3 separate regions of the Homo sapiens genome follow, and all the other regions are linked to region 2. The links are contacts of gene promoters, found by promoter capture Hi-C in human tissues and cell types (Jung and others, 2019). All regions are on one chromosome and are shown on one strand. Each heading gives the region's core, a stretch centred on a gene start or on the middle of the fragment in contact. The rest is flanking DNA. Distances are from core to core; before and after follow the strand shown. Region 1 overlaps COL6A3 (collagen type VI alpha 3 chain). Region 2 holds the start of COPS8 (COP9 signalosome subunit 8). Region 3 has its middle 98 kb from the start of COL6A3.

Region 1 (3,713 bases), core at 634-3,133, 250 kb before region 2:
GAAAAATGTGAAGCAAAGGTAATCCCCCAGGTTCACCCACAGGTCACTGTTCCTGTCTTCCAAAGATTAAAAACAAAAGCTTTGTTCAACAAAGCATTGAGAAAATCTGAAAAGCAGTTGCATTATAATCTGATGTCCAAGAGTCTAGAACTTGTTGAACTCTCCACTTGATTTTTCTTCTATCCCTGTCTTCTCTCTCATGTTGGATAAATATATCTTTAACTTAATCACCCAAATATTGCCAAATAGAACATATTGGCTTACCATGTTTTATGGATCCAATGCCATCATACTTTATGTTTAAAATCACTGGACATAGTTTGTCTGATATAGTTAATTCAACAATAATTATGGGCTAAATAAATGTTATGTGATTCATTTAACTTGTTGACAGATTAATTTTAATTTTCATGTTATTAGCATGCGGTTCAATTGTTTTCTTTGTTTTTTTTCTTTAGGTGAAAATGCTTTTTACTTGTCCCCAGATATCAGGAAACAGTGTGATTGGTTCCAAGGGGACCAACCCACAAAGAACCTTGTGAAGTTTGGTCACAAACAAGTGTAAGTGATTATAATTATTGTCTTAAAAATTGTAGCGCTGCAGGGAATGCACAGGTCCTCCAACCACCTCCTGACTTTATGGGATGAGGACCTTGAAATCCAGAAAATGTGACTTCCCAAAGGTAATGTGGGTCATGCTTCTCAAATAATCTGTTTTATCAGTTAGCTTTTGCCATGTAACAAGCTACCCAAAACTTAGTGGCTTAAAACAACAACCACCTATTTATTTTCTTACTTAATTTATTTAGAGACAGAGTCTTGCTGTGTTGCCCAGGCTGGACTGCAGTTGTGCAATCTTGGCTCACTGTAACCTCTGCCTCCTGGATTCAAGCAATTCTCATGCTTCAGCCTCCCGAGTAGCTGGGACTACAGGTGCATGCAGCCATGCCTGGCTAATTTTTGTATTTTTTTTTCAGTAGAGATGGGGTTTCGCCATGTTGTCCAGCCTTGTCTAGAACTCCTGAACTCAAATGATCTGCCTGCCTCAGCCTCCCAAAGTGCTGGGATTATAAGCATGAGCCACTGGGCCTGGCCAACAACCACTTATTTAATTTGCAATTCTGTGGGTTAGCAATTTTTGTTTGGGCTCAACTGGGTGGTTCTTCTGTTTTCTCCTTGGATCCCTTATGTTTGTGGTCAGCTGCTTGTCAGCTATAGAGCTGCTGGTCTAGAGTGGTCTCAGATGGGCTGGCTCATCTCTGCTCCATGTGGTCTCTCATTCTCAGCAGGCTAGCTTGGGTTTGTTCACCAGGTGACCTGGCAGGGTTCCCTGAGAGAAGACAAGTGTGCAAGGCCTCTTGTGACCTAGGTTAGAACTGGCACACTGTTACTTCTGCCACGTTCTATTGACCAAAGCATGTCCAAAGGCTAACCTAGATTTAAGAATGGAAAACTAGGCTTGATGGAAGGACTTGCCACATTACATTGAAAGGGCATGGGCAGAGAGAAGGTAGATAATTGAGACCATAGTTCCAAACAATTTACCGTATCTGGTGTGAAATGATTACGTAAAAGAAGGATTGGATACATCAAAAAATAGACTCCATGTCTTCTTAAAATTATTAATGCTGTGATAACATGTAATGATGGTAATAATAGGAAGTCATGTGCATGTTCTATGAAGACTGACGGGAGGGGTGGGAGTGGGCAGGACTGTGGCACCCATGCCGATGCTGCTGCCTGGCCCATGTGCCGTGTTTCATGCCCTGCTCCATCTCGGGTGCCAACCCTAGGAGCAAAGAGGGCAGTGGGGGCATGTAACAGAGGGCTAGCTGGGGTGATGTGGCTGCAAGAACTGAGCCCCTGCAGCGTGTCAGCAATGTGTGCTCCTTAAGAGAATGTCACAGTGTGTCATGCTTTGGAGGGAAGTGCAGATTCTGCAGATTCTGAACTTCGTACACAGATGAGATGTGAACGCAAATGATCCTTGAAAAATGACTATCTGGCTTACGACTAGCTGACTCTCAAGATGGGGAAAGAGAGCCCATCTCTTCCTACTGCAGACCCTTCTGTCTATCACCACTTAAGTCCTTCAGCTCTTTCTTTTGACCTCAGAAGGAGTGGCTTTAAATCTCAGCATAGCAAGAATGAATATCATTGCTAAGGCCACTAGGACCCTTATCGTGGCACTGGATGCTTCATTTAGCTTTGTAGCCTCCATTTTTCTAGGCTCTAATGATTCGTATTTTTTCTCTGAAACCTTCCCTGAAATTGGCTCAACCTTTTTATCTTTAGGAAAACAGAATGAATGAAGTAACCTAGTATTTGAAGTCTTATGATATTAACTTGAAAATATATTAATACTTCCTAGGACAAGTAGCAAGATATGACTATAAAATAATATATTTTCTTCTAAGATCAAGAAAGCTATGAAGTGTGGGTCCTTGTTGTTATGTCTGTTTGATTAGGCTGCTATTCTCTCTAGATATTGGTAATAGATCAAGAAATTGTAAAAAAAAATACACATACACAAAAATTAAGAGAAATAAAAAATATATATACTCCCAGTAATAAGCCCTGGGAGCAAAATAGTACATGCTAACTTTATAATTTTCCAGCTCAACATAGCATTTGATTGAGTGGATATTTTCTTATAATGTAAGTAGCTAACTACTGATTTCATTTAATTTTTGGTGTATGTTTTGGTTGGTTAATTGCTATAATGAGAACATTGTTGGATATTATTCATTATTGTCTCTTATTTTCTCTCTGCCTTTATTTTAGAAATTGAAAGATGTTTTTGTAGAACAATATAAGCTTCATTTTTAATGGTTCTATTTTTCAATATGCTGTTCCATATCTTTTTTTAGGGAGGCACAGATCCTTAAAAGAAGGAATTTAATATATGCACTGCTATACATAATCTATAAAAACTATTGCATGCATTTTGCTAAAACAAATTTAATGTAGCTCATGGGGTTATGTCTTTATTTATTTTAGATAGCAGGTAAAAGTAGAGGTAATATTTAATTTGTCTTAACAGAAATGTTCCGAATAACGTTACTTCAAGTCCTACATCCAACCCAGTGACGACAACGAAGCCGGTGACTACGACGAAGCCGGTGACCACCACAACAAAGCCTGTAACCACCACAACAAAGCCTGTGACTATTATAAATCAGCCATCTGTGAAGCCAGCCGCTGCAAAGCCGGCCCCTGCGAAACCTGTGGCTGCCAAGCCTGTGGCCACAAAGATGGCCACTGTTAGACCCCCAGTGGCGGTGAAGCCAGCAACGGCAGCGAAGCCTGTAGCAGCAAAGCCAGCAGCTGTAAGACCCCCCGCTGCTGCTGCTGCAAAACCAGTGGCGACCAAGCCTGAGGTCCCTAGGCCACAGGCAGCCAAACCAGCTGCCACCAAGCCAGCCACCACTAAGCCCATGGGTAAGAAAGCCCTTGCTAGGGCTGCCATCTTGTGACATCCTCATTTCCTGCTCCAGGGTGTGTTCCTCAAAGCCTGCATGTAACACACTCAGAATACAGTCCTTGATCTGGGCTTGTACACCTGGATGATGTATTTTAAGAGGTGTTGGTTAGGGATTCCAGCCTCCCACTCCCCATCCTGTGCCCTCAATCCTGTCTTGCGATAGGGATGGGAAGCTCTCATTCTCTCTGGAATGTCAGTGGGGGCACAGTTCACCTCACCTGAAAATTGA
Region 2 (3,857 bases), core at 1-2,500:
TCCTCCAGGGGCCTAGAAGGCCAAAAATGAAAACAAAACAAAACAACACAAAATTTTAAAAACCTCATTTACCCTTTAACTTTCATTTTTAAAATAATATTTTATAAATGCTAATTTTAAAAGTAAGCCTTTTTAGTCTAAGACTATAAGTAATCTTATAGTCCTATTATAGATTTAGAAACAGCTTAGAGAAGTATCAAACACGAAAATTCTGAGTATTAAGTTTATATTCGTCATCAGCTTTGATTTATCTCCCTTTGGGCTTCAGTTTCTTTATACATTCAAGAATATGTAAGTGGATCCCCTTCCCCAGTTCTCAAATTCCCATTTAAATGATCTTACTATTATAAGAAACAAATTCGACAGATTCCTGAAGCATTCTGATTCTGCCCATTACATCAAGCGTCCTGAATAAGAGACAGAAAATCACCACAGCTGCGTTGCAAAGACAATTCTTTCCATTTTAACTCAACTGGAAAGTATCTATTATCTATTAGTGAGCTGCTGCTTCTGGATGTTGTCTCCTTTATTTAATTTTAAAACTAATGATATAAACCCTTTTTAAGTGTCTAAGAAAAACATTAACTTTAACAGCTGCATAACTTTCATCTGTCTTACTGAAGACAAAATGGCAAGCTAACTTGACAACATTACGAGAAAGGCTTTGTGAGTTAAAAAAAGGTTACAATGGTCACATTTTTCTTGGTGTGCGTGTGAGTTGCGGTGTGTGTGTTAGTGTGTGTGTGTATACCAAGATCTTTAATAAAACCCACTTTACTACCCTCTCCCAACCCGATACTGGGAAGGAAAGATGCCTAATTAATATGAGCTCATCGGTAGGTGCTGGAGCAAAGACGCACAGGGTTTTCGGGCTCACAAGCTGAAGACACATAACAAAAAGGTCCCGGCGAGTTCGGGGAGACCGGGCCCGGTCGGAGCAGGTTGCGGCGGTCAGGGATCCACACGTCCACCTCCCACGCCCGCCCCGTGAGCTCCCAAAGCCCGCTAGCCTCAGACCCCGTTACCCTGGAAACTGGTGCCGCCCCAGGGCCTAAGACTACTCCGCAGTTTCTCCCAGCGCGACGCAAAGGGTTACCTCGAGCTCCTGGTTCTCGCACTGATCCAGCAACTTTTTGAAACTAAAGGCGCTTTCCGCCATCACCGCCACTGGCATCTTCGCGGCCGGCCTCGCCGCTGCACCGTCCGGACAGCCAAACCCCAGACTGTCCCTCAGGCGTCGCGCCCGCGATGACGTTTAAAGCCGCCGTTGCCGCCGAGCGCCCCTGCGTACCAGACCGTCAGTTCCGGGGCGCCGTCAGACATCGCTGCGGCCGGGATAGGGCGCCGCCGTTCTGGCCGGCTTTCTCGGTGCCCTGGAGGACCTGGCCGGCTCCGCGGGAAGCTGTACTCAGAGCGCGCGGCCGCCCTCTGGCAGGGAGGAGTTCGTTGCACTTTTGAGGGTTCTTCACGAAGACATCCAATACATAGAAAACAAGTAACAGCAACAGTAACGAATTTTTAAATATTAAAATTGCTGGGGAACACGACGGATCCTGCAGCTGCTCGGCTGTCCCGGTCGTCAGTGACGCTAGGGCTCCGCACCGTACCCTGCATACCGTAGGTGCTCACGAAACGTTCGTGAGTTCCCTGCTCTGAGGAAACAAGCTTAAAAACTCAGAATCTAAGGTGTGAGTCTCCGCAAACCTGCTTGTTGGGCAGCGTCCCCCGCCCGGGCTAGCCCTGCACGCCCCACCCCGGAGCCACGCTTCTCCAGCCGGGACCCCTGCCTCCTTCCAGGCTATTCTCGGAACCGCAGCCAGAGGGAATTTTTTTTTCCTTTCCTGAAACGTAGAGCAGATCTGGTTACTCTTCTGCACAACGCCCTAAAATCTAGGGCCCTTCCCATCCCTCAGAATTTACATCTAATTCTCAGCTCCCCTCCGGCTTGCTGTAGCCATCCTGGCTTTTGTTTAGCACAGCACTTACTGTTAGTGACATTATATTGTATATTATTAACATATTTGTGTTTTACATCCCTCACTAGACCCCCAGGAAAGAGGCTTTGATGTGTTGCCTGCTGCAAGGCTGGCTGCATAATTTGTGGAGCTCAGAGAAAAGTGCGGAGCTTCCTTGTTCAAAAAACAGAAAGAAAGTGCCTCTGAGGTCATAAAATATAAAACTTTCTCTTTCCTCTCAGTTTCTCTCTTTTCATAGTGTTTTTATGTGTTATTTAATATCATTCCAAGAAAAATTTAGATTTAAATTGTTAGCATGAAGTTCACCATCCATCTTTACGTTGTGCAATGCCAGTTTTAAATACTAATATAAGTGCACTGATCTCATATGTGGAATCACAGAAATTATGCAATTTGTACTTCATAGCTTATACATGCATATAGATTTTGTTTTTACCAGAACCACGCTGGTAAAAACAGATGCTGCACAAAGTGAACTTGCCCGTTTTCATCGCACTTTACGTGCACGAATTCTACCTCTACTCTCGACCTGGGACTCACCGATGCGTAAGGAAGGACTGAAAAGCAAAAGAACTATGGACTGGCCTTTTGGCATGATCAGGTGTCTAATATAAAGAAGTGCATGAATAAGAAAATATATGATATGAGTGATGGTTAATACTGACTGTCAACTTGATTGGATTGAAGGATGCAAAGTATTGATCCTGGGTGTGTCTGTGAGGGTGTTGCCAAAGGAGATTAACATTTGAGTCAGTGGGCTGGGAAAGTTCGACCCACTGTTAATCTAGATGGACACCATCTAATCAGATGCCAGTGCAGCTAGAAATGTAAAGCAGACAGAAAAATGCGAAAAGAGAGACTGGCCTAGCCTGCCAGCCTACATCTTTCTCCCACGCTGGATGCTTCCTGCCCTCGAACATCAGACTCCAAGTTCTTCAGTTTGGGACTTGGACTGGCTCTCCTTGTTCCTCAGCTTGAAGACTGCCCATTGTGGGACTTGTGATCATGTGAGTTAATACTTAATAAACTCCTCTCTCTCTCTCTATATATATATATATAAATATATATATCCTATTAGTTCTGTCCCTCTAGAGAACCATGACTCATACAATATGGTTTCTTCATGCTTCTTAAGACACCATTGCCTTCTTTCTGCCTTCGAAACAAGTTTACTCTCTTAAGGGGAAAAGTGCGGCCTTTTGGGGTGTCAGCACCCAGCTCCCTCAGTTGTAGATACAGCACGAGTACCTTGTGCTCACTTTGAGTCTTGCTGGCCTCGCAACATCAGGGGTCCACAGGGAATTCAGTGTGCATGGTGCATTATGAATGCTGTATGGAACATCAGTGGCCACACGTAGAGGCCCGTTTCCCTGGCTCATGCTCCATTGTCTTAATGGACCTCACTTACAAACCACAAGTTTACAGATAAAATTATTAAGCATTTCAAGACAGAGACAGCCATCCTTGATTTTTTTTTTTTTTTTGGCGTAATCCACAACATCTCTGTGTGGAAATGATTGTTTAGTAATTCCCTGAATGAAATGTAAAGAAAAAAAAAAACACTTGTGTGTTCCTCAAGGAACTGCCAACATTAAATAGAAGGGCACATAAGTAGTTAGCAGAACTAGAGAGATCTTGGAGTAATAAAGCAACAGAGTTTCATCCACGGCTGCAAGGAAGAGAAGGACTGAGGGCAGTATGATTCTAAGATCACTTGACAGAACTATGAGGAGCAGGATTTTGAAGCTTGTAATAATGGTCTCTAACCCTTTTCGGGCAAAGAAATATTCAATAGAAGCCCTGCTTGGCTATTTGATCATTTAAAGGGAAAACTATAATGTGAACGCTTTGGCAGGTGCTTTGGGCCTCTAAGAGGTGGAA
Region 3 (3,588 bases), core at 672-3,171, 230 kb before region 2:
GAGGCAGGTGGATCACTTAGGAGTTCAGGACCAGCCTAGCCAACATGGTGAAACCTCTCTACTAAAAATACAACAACAACAACAAAATTAGCTGGGCATGGTGGCACATGCTTGTAATCCTAGCTAGTAGGGAGGCTGAGGCAGGAGAATTGCTTGAACCTGGGAGACAGAGGTTGCAGTGAGCCGAGATCGCACCACTGCACTCCAGCCTGGTAACAGAACAAGACTCTGTCTCAAGAAACAAAAAACAAACAACAAAAAATCCCAAGACAGCCACCTTTGGGAAGACCTGAAGGAAGATTCCAGATCCAGAGAGGGCCTGGATCTGAGATCCTGGGTAGAGAAATGACTGTGACATGTTTGAGAAACAGCAAGATGGCCAGTGTGGCTGGAGTCAAACAAATAAGCGGATAAATTTTTGGAGTTGAAGTCTGAGAGAGAATGGCCAAGTCAGGCCCCAAAACTCTTTCATAACTAACGAGTTGTGGATTGTACTTTAATGTGATGGAAAGCCATTGGGAGCTTTAAGCCGGGCAGTCCTGGGTGTGACATGTGATTCTTTGAGGAGGCGGGGTAGTCAATCAAAAATTCTGCCATGCGTATTAGAACTTAGGATGCTATTGAACTTTGAAGCGGTGATATGAGGAAGACAGTTGAAGTTCAGAGGAGAGGGTGGGGCTAAGGATATACATTCAGCAGTTTGGAAATATACCATATTCGAAGCCTAGATTTATGGTGCGATTTCATTGCTTGAGAGTATAGATGAAGAGGGACAGGGAGTCAGGAGAGGCCTGTCTGTGCCCTGGCGGTTAGAGGTTGAGCAGAGAAGACAGGCTTGGTGAAAGAGGCTGAGGAGGAGTGTTTGTAGAAATAAGAAGAGAATCAGTAGAGACAGGTGTCATGCAAGGACAGCGTTGGCAGAAGCTGTGTCAAAATGAACAGAGCAGTCACCTGTGCTGAATGCTGCTCATGGTTTAGAAAACAGAGAGCAGGAAGGAGAGAGTATTCTTGGGGCTGTGGTATGTAGTGAGTTAGGATGCTCTCAGCAGCCAGGAACTGAAACCCCATCTCGCATTGGCTTAGATCACGAAGTCACTGGTTGTCCCCATTTCACAGAAATCCAGAGCACAGGCTGTGGGAGGAGTCAAAGATGCCATCAAGGACCCAGGTTTTCCCATCTCTCTGGACTATTTTCAGCTTGGGCCCCACTCTTAGGCTAGTAACAAGTCTCATGTGGACACAATGATATTTAAAGGAAGAAGGAAGACCATCCTTTCTGTGGCTTTTCTCCAGAAAGCTCCCTGGCAGATGTCCCCTGGCAGTCCATTGGTTGGAAATGGGTTGCATGCCTCTAAGCCAATGTTGGGAATAAGAATAGAATCCGTGGATCACCTGAGGTCAGGAGTTTGAGACCAGCCTGGCCAACATTGTGAAATCCCGTCTACTAAAAATACAAAAATTAGCCATGCATGCGTGGTGGTGCATGCCTATAATCCCAGCTATTTGGGAGGCTGAGGCAGGAGAATCACTTGAACCCAGGAGGTGGAGATTGCAGTGAGCCCAGATCATGTCACTACACTCCAGCCTGGGTGACAGAGCAAGACTTCGTCAAAAAAACAAAAAACAAAAAACAAAAACAACCGGAACCCCTGTTAGGTTAATTAAGCCCACCCCTGTGGAGAGACGCGGGAACCTGAGGGCTGTGGTGGGGAGGATATGGGAGGACTGCGTTCATCACTGCTCCCGTATAAGTTCATGTGTATGCAGCCATGACACACAGTCATCAGTGACATTTAAGAGTCTGTAGTTCACCCTATATAGGCATAGGTATAGGCATCACCTTCCCTACTAACTCCCTTGACAGTTTCCAAAAGAGGCAAAACAACAGAAACAAAGCTTTCTAGTTTTTGTTTAAGGGAAGCACTTAAAGTAATAAGACTTAATGACACGTAAAGTCTATTGTGGTTTCCTCACTGTGGGACAGGAAAACTGGGTCCTTATGTGACTGTCAACCTGACTGCCTCAACTAGACATGACTTTGCTGACTGTCTAGATTTGAATGTTGGGGGTCTGTGCCCATCATCCTAACCACACTTTTTTCCTGTCTTCTTCATTTGCTGGTGGCCTTCATTAATTCCTGGGCCAGGTCTAATGCTTGTGACCTAAGACAGTGATTTGGAAAACAGTACGAAGATTGAGTACAAGTTTAGGGCTGTGCAGAAGGACCTCAAGAGTGTCTCTATCTTTGTTTTTCTGTGAGGCAAAAGAGGACTTTGGCAATAGATTGCCTGGCCCTTATCTATACACAATGAGTCGTTTGTTGAATTTCCCACCTCATGGGGCGGGGGAACGAATGCTACTCAGTGTAAGATGCAACTTCAGGATAAGAAAGATAAATATTAACCGTTTCCAGAAAAAACTTATGCGTGTTTAATGATATTCAGAATAAAGGTCTCAAATTAGAATATATTCTAATTCTGTTTTATTCTATTCTATTCTAGTCTGTTTTAGAATATATTCAGAAAACTGTTTCTTTCCACGAGGTTGCCCTGGGAGAAGCTTGAGCTGAGGCCTGAGTCTGCTTAACATCAGGCTGTAACCAGCTGGCCAAACAGCTTTGATTTGTGAAGTCAGTGTCTGAGGGGAATTTATATGAGTGGCTCTAGGGTCTCTGCCACAAATAAATCACACAGGGACCTCTTTTCCTGAGACGACCGGAATGCAATGGAACAATCGGCTCAAATCCCTGTACTTATTTGAATTTCAATATAAAAATCCATTTTCACCTACAGCACGTTCATAAGCAGATCTCTGTTAGTTCACTTGCCCCTGAAGAGCTCTCTAGGATGGAAATCCGTTCCTGTCCCAGGATCCATGCTCCTGTCCCTGTGGCCATGTGATCTGAATTTCTCTTGCCTTTTAAGGAAACAGGCTCTGCTGCTGGCCTTGGTTCAGCCGCTGCATTCCAGCCTGCACACATGGAACGCATTGCCTGCCACTGAGCAGGACAGCCTCGCCAGCGTGGCAGAGAGCAGCACTAAAAATAGCGGGGTGCAGCTCAGCAGGCTCTGCCGCGCAGCCTGGCTGTCTTCTGTGGAAGTGGAGGCACTGTCTGCGGAGCCTCATCAGGACTCAGCTGATTCCCTTGTTTGGCTGAAGTTGTTACTCAAACCCCAACCCAAATTAATTGTTGATGTACAGAGAAAGGGCACCATTCTGGAGCCTCTCGGGGTCACTCCCTTTGTGACCTCCCTGAGCACAAGGCTTAGGCCTCCTTAGGCTCCAGGAGCAGGAGTGGGATTCTCACTAGACAATTTCAAAGTGGGTTGAATGTGTGATAACAGGGGATGTATTGGCAGCCAGGGCAGCCACTGCGATGGTGGCTCAGAGACCCCCCTCAGCCTCAGTCCCTTGGGGTCCTTTTGGAGCTCACGGAGCATACTTGGTCTAGGTGGAGTCACAGTCTTGTGTCTTCAAGGGCTGGGTGGGTCTCTTGGGCAGAGGAGGAGCAAAGCACTAGGGACTGCTGGGGCTTGAGGCAAATAAGGAAGAGGTGTCCATTCTAAAGGCATTGGGGTTTGAAGACTT

Evidence for each region. The method cuts DNA at HindIII sites, captures the fragments that hold promoters and counts their contacts. A contact is called where the count stands out against the background at its distance.
Region 1: a contact is called between a fragment that was not itself captured here and the fragment with the promoter of COPS8 in region 2, in 1 of the 25 tissues and cell types used here (bladder).
Region 3: a fragment that was not itself captured here is called in contact with the fragment with the promoter of COPS8 in region 2 in 2 of the 25 tissues and cell types used here (IMR-90 fibroblasts and aorta).

The regions. Positions count from the first base shown.
Region 1 is chr2:237,335,863-237,339,575 of GRCh38, reverse strand. It overlaps COL6A3 (collagen type VI alpha 3 chain), which reads left to right. Exons shown (of 44, transcript NM_004369.4): 39 at 459-561; 40 at 3,044-3,441. Among named protein-coding and RNA genes, the nearest start is that of COL6A3, 76 kb to the left of the region's middle. RefSeq lists enhancers at 2,792-3,292, 3,293-3,713. The HindIII fragment of the contact is 4,175 bases long and covers 1-3,713 here.
Region 2 is chr2:237,083,282-237,087,138 of GRCh38, reverse strand. It overlaps COPS8 (COP9 signalosome subunit 8), which reads right to left and starts at 1,250. Exons shown (of 8, transcript NM_006710.5): 1 at 1,097-1,250; 2 at 1-12. The coding sequence starts at 1,174. It overlaps COPS8-DT (COPS8 divergent transcript), which reads left to right and starts at 1,318. Exons shown (of 3, transcript NR_187934.1): 1 at 1,318-2,983. RefSeq lists enhancers at 415-1,309, 1,120-1,669, 1,310-2,204. The HindIII fragment of the contact is 6,775 bases long and covers 41-3,857 here.
Region 3 is chr2:237,314,762-237,318,349 of GRCh38, reverse strand. No RefSeq gene overlaps it. Among named protein-coding and RNA genes, the nearest start is that of COL6A3, 98 kb to the left of the region's middle. RefSeq lists enhancers at 2,520-3,120, 1,720-3,588. The HindIII fragment of the contact is 4,187 bases long and covers 1-3,588 here.